2 separate regions of the Homo sapiens genome follow, and region 2 is linked to region 1. The links are contacts of gene promoters, found by promoter capture Hi-C in human tissues and cell types (Jung and others, 2019). All regions are on one chromosome and are shown on one strand. The core of a region is centred on a gene start or on the middle of the fragment in contact, and the rest is flanking DNA. Distances in the headings are between cores, read along the strand shown.

The links. Contacts are between HindIII fragments. The study calls those that stand out against the background at their distance.
Region 2: the fragment with the promoter of NAPA here is called in contact with the fragment with the promoter of MYPOP in region 1 in 1 of the 25 tissues and cell types used here (lymphoblastoid cells).

Annotation. Positions count from the first base shown.
Region 1 is chr19:45,901,270-45,906,033 of GRCh38, reverse strand. It overlaps MYPOP (Myb related transcription factor, partner of profilin), which reads left to right and starts at 3,421. Exons shown (of 3, transcript NM_001012643.4): 1 at 3,421-3,464; 2 at 4,209-4,759. The coding sequence starts at 4,261. RefSeq lists silencers at 2,729-2,808, 3,369-3,418 and enhancers at 3,069-3,178, 3,609-3,658. The HindIII fragment of the contact is 9,891 bases long and covers 1,886-4,764 here.
Region 2 is chr19:47,513,493-47,517,609 of GRCh38, reverse strand. It overlaps NAPA (NSF attachment protein alpha), which reads left to right and starts at 2,547. Exons shown (of 11, transcript NM_003827.4): 1 at 2,547-2,767. The coding sequence starts at 2,670. RefSeq lists an enhancer at 1,899-2,168 and a silencer at 2,259-2,598. The HindIII fragment of the contact is 27,973 bases long and covers 1-4,117 here.

The DNA of each region.
Region 1 (4,764 bases), core at 2,172-4,671:
CGACAAGAGCAAAACTCCATCAAGAAAAGAAAAGAGGCAAGACAAGAAAGAAAATGTGGCCCTAGAAAGCCTTCCCTGACCCACCCTCACCCCAGGAGTCTTGCCCTCTGACTTCCTGCATCCAGCTTCCAGCTACCCACATCTGTGGAGCTCCATACCCCACTGCTGTGGCTCTCCACCTCCCACCGCCTCGTGAACCCAGAGCCAGGTTTAGACTCAACTCTCTGCCTGGACTGCCATGGAGGCAGCAGCTCCCTGAATGCAGCTCCCCGAATGCCTTCCCGGGGTCCCCAGTGCATTTGTTTCCTGTGGCTGCCATGACAAGGTACCGCAAACTGGGTGGTTTAAAACGAGAAACGTGGCTAGGCACGGTGGCTCACACCTGTAATCCTAGCACTTTGGGAGGCCGAGACAGGCGGATCACCTGAGGTAAGGAGTTCAAGACCAGCCTGGCCAACACTGTGAAACCCCGTCTCTACTAAAAATACAAAAATTAGCTGGGCATGGTGGCATGCGCCTGTAATCCCAGTTACCCGGGAGACTGAGGCAGGAGAATCACTGGAATCCGGGAGGCAGAGGCTGCAGCGAGCCGAGATCGTGCCACTGTACTCCAGCCTGGGCAACAGAGCAAGACTCCATTTCAAAAAAAAAAAAAAAACAGAGAGAGAGAAACGTATTGTCTCCCAGATTCACCAGGCTGAAAATCCGAAATCAAGGCATGGGCGTGGCCTCACTCCGGACAAGGCTCCAGCGGGTGATCTTTCCTGGCTTCTTCCAGCTTCTGATAGCACAGGGCCTTCCTGGGCTTGTGGCTGCGTCACCCCCGTCTCCACTTCTGTCACCATAGAATTGTCTTCCCTGTGTGTCTCCTCTTCTTATAAAGACACCGGGAATGAGGAATGACGGGTCCACCCTACACTGGTATGGCTACCTCTCAACGAATTCCCTCTCCAAGGACCCTATTTCCAAATAAGGTCACATTCTGAAGCACTGGGGGATCAGGACTTCAGCCTCTCTTTTTGGGGGAAACAGTTCAACCTGTTGGTCACTTTACACTCACGTATCTTTTTTTGATTGTGTTTTTTTTGTTGTTGTTCTTATTTTTTTAATTTAATTTTTTTTTGAGGCAGAGTCTCACGCTGTCCCCCAGGCTGGAATGCAGTGGCGCAGTCTCAGCTCACTGCAAGCTCAGCCTCCCGGGTTCATGCCATTCTCCTGCCTCAGCCTCCCGAGTAGCTGGGACTTCAGGCGCCTGCCACCACTCCCGGCTAATTTTTTGTATTTTTAGTAGAGACGGGGTTTCACCATGTTAGTCAGGATGGTCTCAATCTCCTGACCTCGTGATCCACCTGCCTCGGCCTCCCAAAGTGCTGGGATTACAGGAATGAGCCACTGCGCCCGGCCTTTTTTTTAATTTTTTTGAGACAGAGTCTCACTCTGTCGCCCAGGCTGGAGTGCAGTGGTGAGATCTCGGTTCCCTGCAATCTGTGCCTCCTAGGCTCAAGAGATTCTCCTGCCTCAGCCTCCCGAGTAGCTAGGATTACAGGCACATGGCACAACACCCAGCTATTTTTTTTTTTTTTGAATTTTTAATAGAGACAGGGTTCCACCATGTTGGCCAGGCTGGTCTCGAACTCCTGACCTCAGATGATCCACCTGTCTCAGCCTCCCAAAGTGTTGGGATTACAGGCGTGAGCCACTGCACCCAGCCTTACATTCACCACATCTTACCTGACCCCACACCCCCAAGTGAGAACCTGGGCCAGAGACTTGGGTTTCACCTAGACATCTTCCTTTCCCTCGCTAGCGCGACACTCACCATGCTTTCCATATATTCTCTCAAATGTCTCTCCGTGTCCCCCTTGACACTGTCCCTGTCTTAGTTTAGTCTCCCCTCGCTTTCCTAATCCTTTTCTTACCCCTGCTCATGACTTTTTTTGACTCTACCCAGTAGTCTTGCTCCCTCCCACCCACCCTCCACACAGCAGGCAGAGGGGCCTTTTTTTTCTCTCTCTCTTCTTTTGAGACAGGGTCTTACTCTGTTGCCCAAGCTGGAGAGCAGTGGCCTGATCATAGCTCACTGCAGCCTGCAACTCCTGGGCTCAAGCGATCCTCCCGCCTCAGCCTCCCAAGTAGCTGGGACTACAGGCATGTATTTTTTTTTTTTTTTTTTTTGAGACGGAGTCTCACTCTGTCGTCCAGGTGGAGTGCAGTGGTGCAATCTCAGCTCACTGCAACCTCTGCCTCCCGGGGTTAAGCGATTCTCGTGCCTCAGCCTCCCGAGTAGCTGGGATTACAGGCATGCACCACCATGCCCAGCTAGTTTTTGTATTTTCAGTAGAGATGGGGTTTCACTGTGTTGGCCAGGCTTGTCTCGAACCCCTGACCTCAGGTAATCCGCCCGCCTTGGCTTCCCAAAGTGCTGGGATTACAGGCGTGAGCTCCACCGCGCCCGGCCCAGGCTACGGATTTTAGCTTTTATGTTCATTGTACCAGGAACTGTGTAAGTGCTCATGTATATTTATTGAGTCGATGAATGAAGCACCAATTGTCGAATGACCTTGAGGACTCCTGCAGGATGCTAACGAACACACTTCTCAGCCGGACTGAGCTCCATCATCCTGCCATGCGGCTCACCCCACCTGCGTTCTGGCTTCATTCCTGTCTCCATGCACTTGCTTAAAGTCGTGCCGGCGTCAGGATCTCCCTTCCTACCAGCCAGGAAGCTCTTCCCTCTTATTTTCCCCGCTCCTCGAGGTAAAGGTGCGCACAGAGGGGCCCCCAAGGCGTGACTGGAAGGCTTGTGGGTCGCTATGGTTACTGCATCCGCCCGGGGCGGGACATCCCCAGGACGCCCAGCCTCTAGGGGTGCGAGGTGGGAAGCTCTGGAGCGGCCCAGCGCAGGGGCGGGCAAGCCAGGAGGCAAAGCGGTTTCCTCACGCCTCCACCCCACCCACACAGTTGTCAAGGAGACAAAGCGCTTCCCTTCAGCGCTGTCTCCCTCCCCTTTGGTTAGAGGGCAGGGTGGGCTGGAAGACTGTCCGAAAGGTTGGGTACTGGCGCGCTCCCAGCATCTCTCCCATCCAAGCTCGCAACGCCTGCGCCGAGACCCGGTACCGGGTACAACCCGAGGCACGCGCATGCGCGCGATGGAGTTTTTGCGCGTGCGCCGTTGTGGCCCCAGGAAGCTGGGGTACCCGCGCGGCGCTAACGTTGCGGCTGCGCAGTTGCGGCCTGCTGGTGGGGCTCGGCGGAGCGCAGTTCTGCGCCTGCGCTGTGCTGGGGTAGGTGGGAATGAAACCCTGGCGGTAAGGGCATTGGGGCCGACTGGCCCTGGGCGCGCCTGCGCCTTGGCATGCGGGGCGGCCGGAGGCGGGGCCGAAAGAGGGGAGGGAGGGAGGCGGGGGGTGGGAACAGGCCGCAGAAGCCCGAGCCCTGACCCACCGGCGGCTGCGGCGGAGCCGGTGAGTGACCCGTGGCCCGACTCGGTCCCCACCCTCCGCGACCTTCGCTCTCCCTGCCGTCCCCCGTAGCCTCCGTTGTCTCCTTGTGATACGGGACCCCCGTTATTTCCAGAGCTCCCCTTAATTTCTGGCAATCCCCAGAGCCCCCACAATCCTCGCAGACCCTGATCCCTAATATTTGATCGTTCCAGCTCTTCCAGTGATACAGGAGCTCCCACCTCACCATTATTCCTGGACATCCCTCTAAGGGCCCTTCTCATATCGGTCTTACAGACGCCCCGTTGCCCCCTAGAGCCCCTAGAGCGCCTCCTCTGCTCCAGATTCCCCCCTTCTTGCTGCATCCCCCCTTCCGCATCTCCTTATCTTCATGCATCTAAGACCCCCCCGAGGCACCCCCATCCTCCCTCCATTTCCTATCCTCCCGTGCCCCCATTCTCTAACTCCTGCAGACACCTCCTCTCCTCGCACTTTTCCTCCTTTCCTTCCATCCCTCCAGACCCTCCCCCAATTTCTATCAACTCTTCAGCGTGGCACTTCGCGCCGCGCGAAGTCCGAGCCAAGCGCTCAGCCGGTGTCAGCTACTCTTAGGCGCTTCCGACTTACCCGGGTGCCCGTCGCCCCCGCCCGCCCCCCGCCCCCACTCCTGCCCCCGGGGACTAAGGAGCTCTCGGCCCGGCGGTCTGGGAGAGGCGGCGGCGGGGGGACCCCGAACCCCAGCCAGCCCCGTGCGCCCTTTGCCCGCAGCGCCGGCGCCCCCCATGCGCCAGACGGCAGGACGGCGGCGTCGGGGGGCGCCATGGCCTCGGCGGCGGCGGGCGAAGCGGAGGAAACCACCCGGTTGCGCAAGCCGCGCTTCTCATTCGAAGAGAACCAGATCCTGATCCGCGAGGTGCGCGCCCACTACCCGCAGCTCTACGGCGCGCAGAGCCGTCGGGTGAGCGTGGCAGAGCGGCGGCGCGTGTGGGACGGCATCGCCGCCAAGATCAACGGTATCACCAGCTGGAAGCGCACGGGCCAGGAGGTGCAGAAGCGCTGGAACGACTTCAAGCGCCGCACCAAGGAGAAGCTCGCTCGCGTGCCGCACTCCACGCAGGGCGCCGGGCCCGCCGCGGAGGACGCTTTCTCCGCGGAAGAGGAGACCATTTTTGCCATCCTGGGGCCAGGTGTGGCGGCGCCGGGGGCAGGTGCTGGGGCGGAGGAGCCCCCTGCGGCCCCCTCTTCACAGCCGCCGCCCCCAAGCGCCTGCCCTCAGCGCTACGTGTTGTCGGAAGACCGCCGGGAGGACCGACGTGCAGGTGAG
Region 2 (4,117 bases), core at 1,298-3,797, 1.6 Mb before region 1:
CTTAGTGTTTTTGTTTGTTTTGAGATGGAGTCTCACTCTGTCACCCAGGCTGTAGCACAGTGGCACAATCTCGGCTCACCACAACCTCCACCTCCTGGGTTCAAGCAATTCTGCTTCAGCTTCCTGAGTAGCTGGGACTATAGGCGCCCTCCACCAGGCCCAGCTAATGTTTGTATTTTTAGTAGAGACAGTGTTTCTCCATGTTAGCCAGGCTGGTCTGGAACTCCTGACCTCAGGTGATCCACCCGCCTCAGCCTCTCAAAGTGGTGGGATTACAGGTATGAGCCACCGCACCCGGCCAATTTCCTTGGTTTTTTAACTCAATGCCCTTCTGTTCCAGGATCCCACCGAAGGTAAGACATTACATTTAGCAGTCACGTCTCCTTGGCTGTGATGGTTTCTCAGGCTTTCCTTGTTTTGATGACTTGACAGTGTTATTTGTTTGAGACGGAGTCTCCCTCTTGTCCCCCAGGCTGGAGTGCAGTGAGGCAATCTCCGCTCACTGCAACCTCCACCTCCAGGGTACAAGTGATCCTCCTGCCTCAGCCTCCCAAGTAGCTGTGATTACAGGCATGCACCACCTCACCGGGCTAAGTTTTTTGTATTTTCAGTAGCGACGGGGTTTCCCCATGTTGGACAGGCTGGTCTCAAACTCCTGGCCTCAAGTGATCCTCCTGCCTTGGCCTCCCAAAGTACCAGGACTACAGATGTGACACACTGCACCCACCAACAGTGTTGAGGAGTACTGGGCAAGTATTTTGGAGGATGTGGCTCAACTGGAATTTGTCTAGTGTTTTTTTCATGATTAGATTGAAAGATCCCAGAAGTAAAGAGCCATTTTAATCACATGACTTATCAATGTTGAGGTTAACCTCAATCACCTAGATGTCAATGTCAGGTTTCTCCACTGTAAATTTAGGCTTTTTCTCCCCTTTCTTGTACCCTCTTCTTTGAAAGGAAGTCACTATGCACAGTCCATACTTACAGAATGGGGAGGTATCCTTCACCTTCTTGAGAGCAGAGTATCTACGCAGATTATTTGGAATTCTTCTGCACAAACTATTTGTCTATTCTCCCCCCTTTATTTATTTGTTCTATATTCATCTATATGACCATAGGCTCATGGATACTTTATGTTTGGGATTATAATCCAATACTACTTTATTTTGATGCTCAAATTGTTCCAGCTTTGGCCATTGGGAGTTCTTTCAGTTGGCTCCTTTGGCATACCCCCTAATTTTGTGTGTGAGCACACGTGTGGAATACTTCCTTCCTTTCTGGCACTACAAAGTTATACTGAGGTGAGCTATGATTGTGCTGCTGCACTCCAGCCTGGGCGACAGACCGAGACCCTGTCTCCAAAACCAACAACCCAAAGAGTGAGACCCTGTCTCAGAAACCAGCAACTCAATTTTCTGGGACAGCAGGAGGTGTGTTTGAGCCTAAACTTTTTTTTTTAGAGACAGAGTCTTGCTATGTTGCCCAAGGCGGGACTTGAACTAGACTCAAACTCCTGGGCCCAAGCGATCCTCTCGCCTCCCGAGTAGCTGGGATTATAGGCACGAGACACCGCGCCCATCTTCGAATCTGAATTTTTTTTTAACACGCTCTCTTCAGCTATTTTTTTTTTTTTTCTGAGACTAAGTCTCACTCTGTCGCCCAGGCTGGAGTGCAGTGGCACGATCTCGGCCCGTTGCAACCTCCACCTCCCCGGTTCAAGCGATTCTCCTCTCTCAGCCTCCTCAGTAGCTGGGATTACAGGAGTGTGCCACCACACCCGGTTAATATTTGTATTTTAGTAGAGCGGGGTTTCGCCATGTTGGCCGGGCTGGTCTCAAACTCATGACCTCAAGTGATCCGCCCGCCTCGGCCTCCCAAAGTGCTGGGATTACAGGCGTAAGCCACCGTGCCCGGCCCTCTTCAGCTATTTTTTATGAAACCAGAGTTAGAGAACCTCTTAAGTTTTTGTTTGCAGTCTCTCTTCACCGGTCTCCCCAAAGCAGTTCTAGTACTGGCCGACAGAGGGAGCAAGAAAAAGCAGAACGGTTTCCTTTTCCCACAAACGCCTTTCCAAGTGAAGAAACCGGCGAGACCAGCCGCGGGGGCGGGACTAAGTTCTGCGCAGAACTGTCAAACCCGGGCGTGGGCCCCGAGCTGTCACGTGAGTGTCTGCGGTCAGCTGACTGTGCCAGAGTTCCGCGGGGAGGGCGAGTGGGGGACCCCCCGCCCCAGCGCGAGCCGAGGGCTCCTGCTGATTGGTGGAGGAGGATCCAGCAGCAACACCGTGGGGCGGGGCCTCGGCGGGGGGTACTGCCATTGCCTTCCACAGGGTCACGTGGGAGGTGAGGTACAGAGCGCTGGGGAGAGAGTGGAGCGCCGTTCGCCGGTATGTGCGCATGCGTTGAGGTCTCTTGACGCCGATTGGGGGGTCACGAGTCACGGGCGGCGTGCGGCGGCTGGTGGGGGCGTGTCCGGCGGAGCGGGCGCGGCGTTACGAGGCCGCTGGTTGGCCAGCGCTAGTCACGTGGTTCCTGGCCGCAAGCGACGCGCGCCGGTGCGACGTCAACGCAGCCGGGCGAGTTTTACCGATCTGTGTTCCGCGGCCCGGCCGCGGCTGAGTCTTCCCAGGGTCAGGGTCAGGCGCTTTGCTGAGTCCCTTTGTGGCCGCCATGGACAATTCCGGGAAGGAAGCGGAGGCGATGGCGCTGTTGGCCGAGGCGGAGCGCAAAGTGAAGAACTCGCAGTCCTTCTTCTCTGGCCTCTTTGGGTGAGAACCGGGCTGAGGGGTCGGCCGGGACCTAGGCTGAGAGGACGAAGGAGTCACGCTCGGAGGTGGCGGGTTAGGGCACGCAGAGCTCGGGCCGAGGGGACGGAGAGGAACCTGCAATAAGGTGACATGGCCTGAGGCGGCAGAGGGGACGCAGGCTGAGGGCCAAGAGCCTGGGCCGGGGCAACACGGTTTGAGGAGAGACGGTCTGACATGGCGGAAGGGATTTGGGCTGAGGACACACGGACCGAGGCGACACTATCTTGAGGCGAGGAAGGGGACCCAGGCCGAAGACAGGCCAGCGGGCGGGGGAGAACCTGGACCGAGGGAGTACGTCCTGAAGCCTTGGAGGGGACCGGCCTGGGGGGACGGAGGGAGTCCGGGAGAGAAGCCAGGTCCAGAGGCTTTTCGGAGCTCTAGGGGAGTCTGTTTGAAGGCTCTCAGGCGGCAGTGATGGGGCCTGGGGCTGAGGACGCCTGCCCGAGGGACTGACCTTTTCAACCCCTGGAGCAGTGGATTTGCGTGGGCCCTGGGCGGTGAGGGTGAAGGCTGAAGGGGGCTGACACCAGGCAGAGGGGCTCAGGGCTAGATGATCCTAGGAGCGGTGAGCCGCGTCTGAAGTGTGGGGGGTGCATGGGGTGAGTACGGCCCTGGTTAGCAGTGACTAGTTTAAGGACAGCTGAACGGAGGAACCCGGGATGATGGAGTCAAGACTGTGGAGGTCTCAGCACTTTGGGAGGCCGAGGTGGGCAGATTATCTGAGGCGGGGAGTTCGAGACCAGCCTGGACAACATGGTGAAACCCCGTCTCTACTAAAAATACAAAAGTTATCTGGGCCTGGTGGCGGGTACCTGTAATCCCAGCTACTCGGGAGGCTGGGGCAGGAGAATCACTTGAACCCGGAGGTAGAGGTTGCAGTGAGCCGAGATCGAGCCACTGCACTACAGCCTGGGGGACAGAGCGAGACTCTGTCTCAAAAAAAAAAAAAAAAAAAAAGAAAGAAAGAAAGAAAAAAGCCTGAGGAGGCCTGGGTTGAGGCTGGAGACTCCTGGGTGGGGGAATGCGTGGTGGTGGCTTGGCCAAGGAGATGGAGGGATAACAGGGAGAGACAGGGGGACTGAGAGAACCAAAACGGGGGATCAAATTCCTGCTGTGTGATCCTCGAGTAATAGGGATGACAGAGACATGCTGAGAAGAGGGATGGGAAAAGGCCTGGGAGACAGAACTAACACATATGACGTGGCATAAAACTCACGTTAGCTCCTAAAAGCTGACACGACCATCCTGTGATAAATTGTAGTGGCTTAGAAGTGCCAAGAGCCCAAGTAGCTCTGCCACTTACTTCATGAC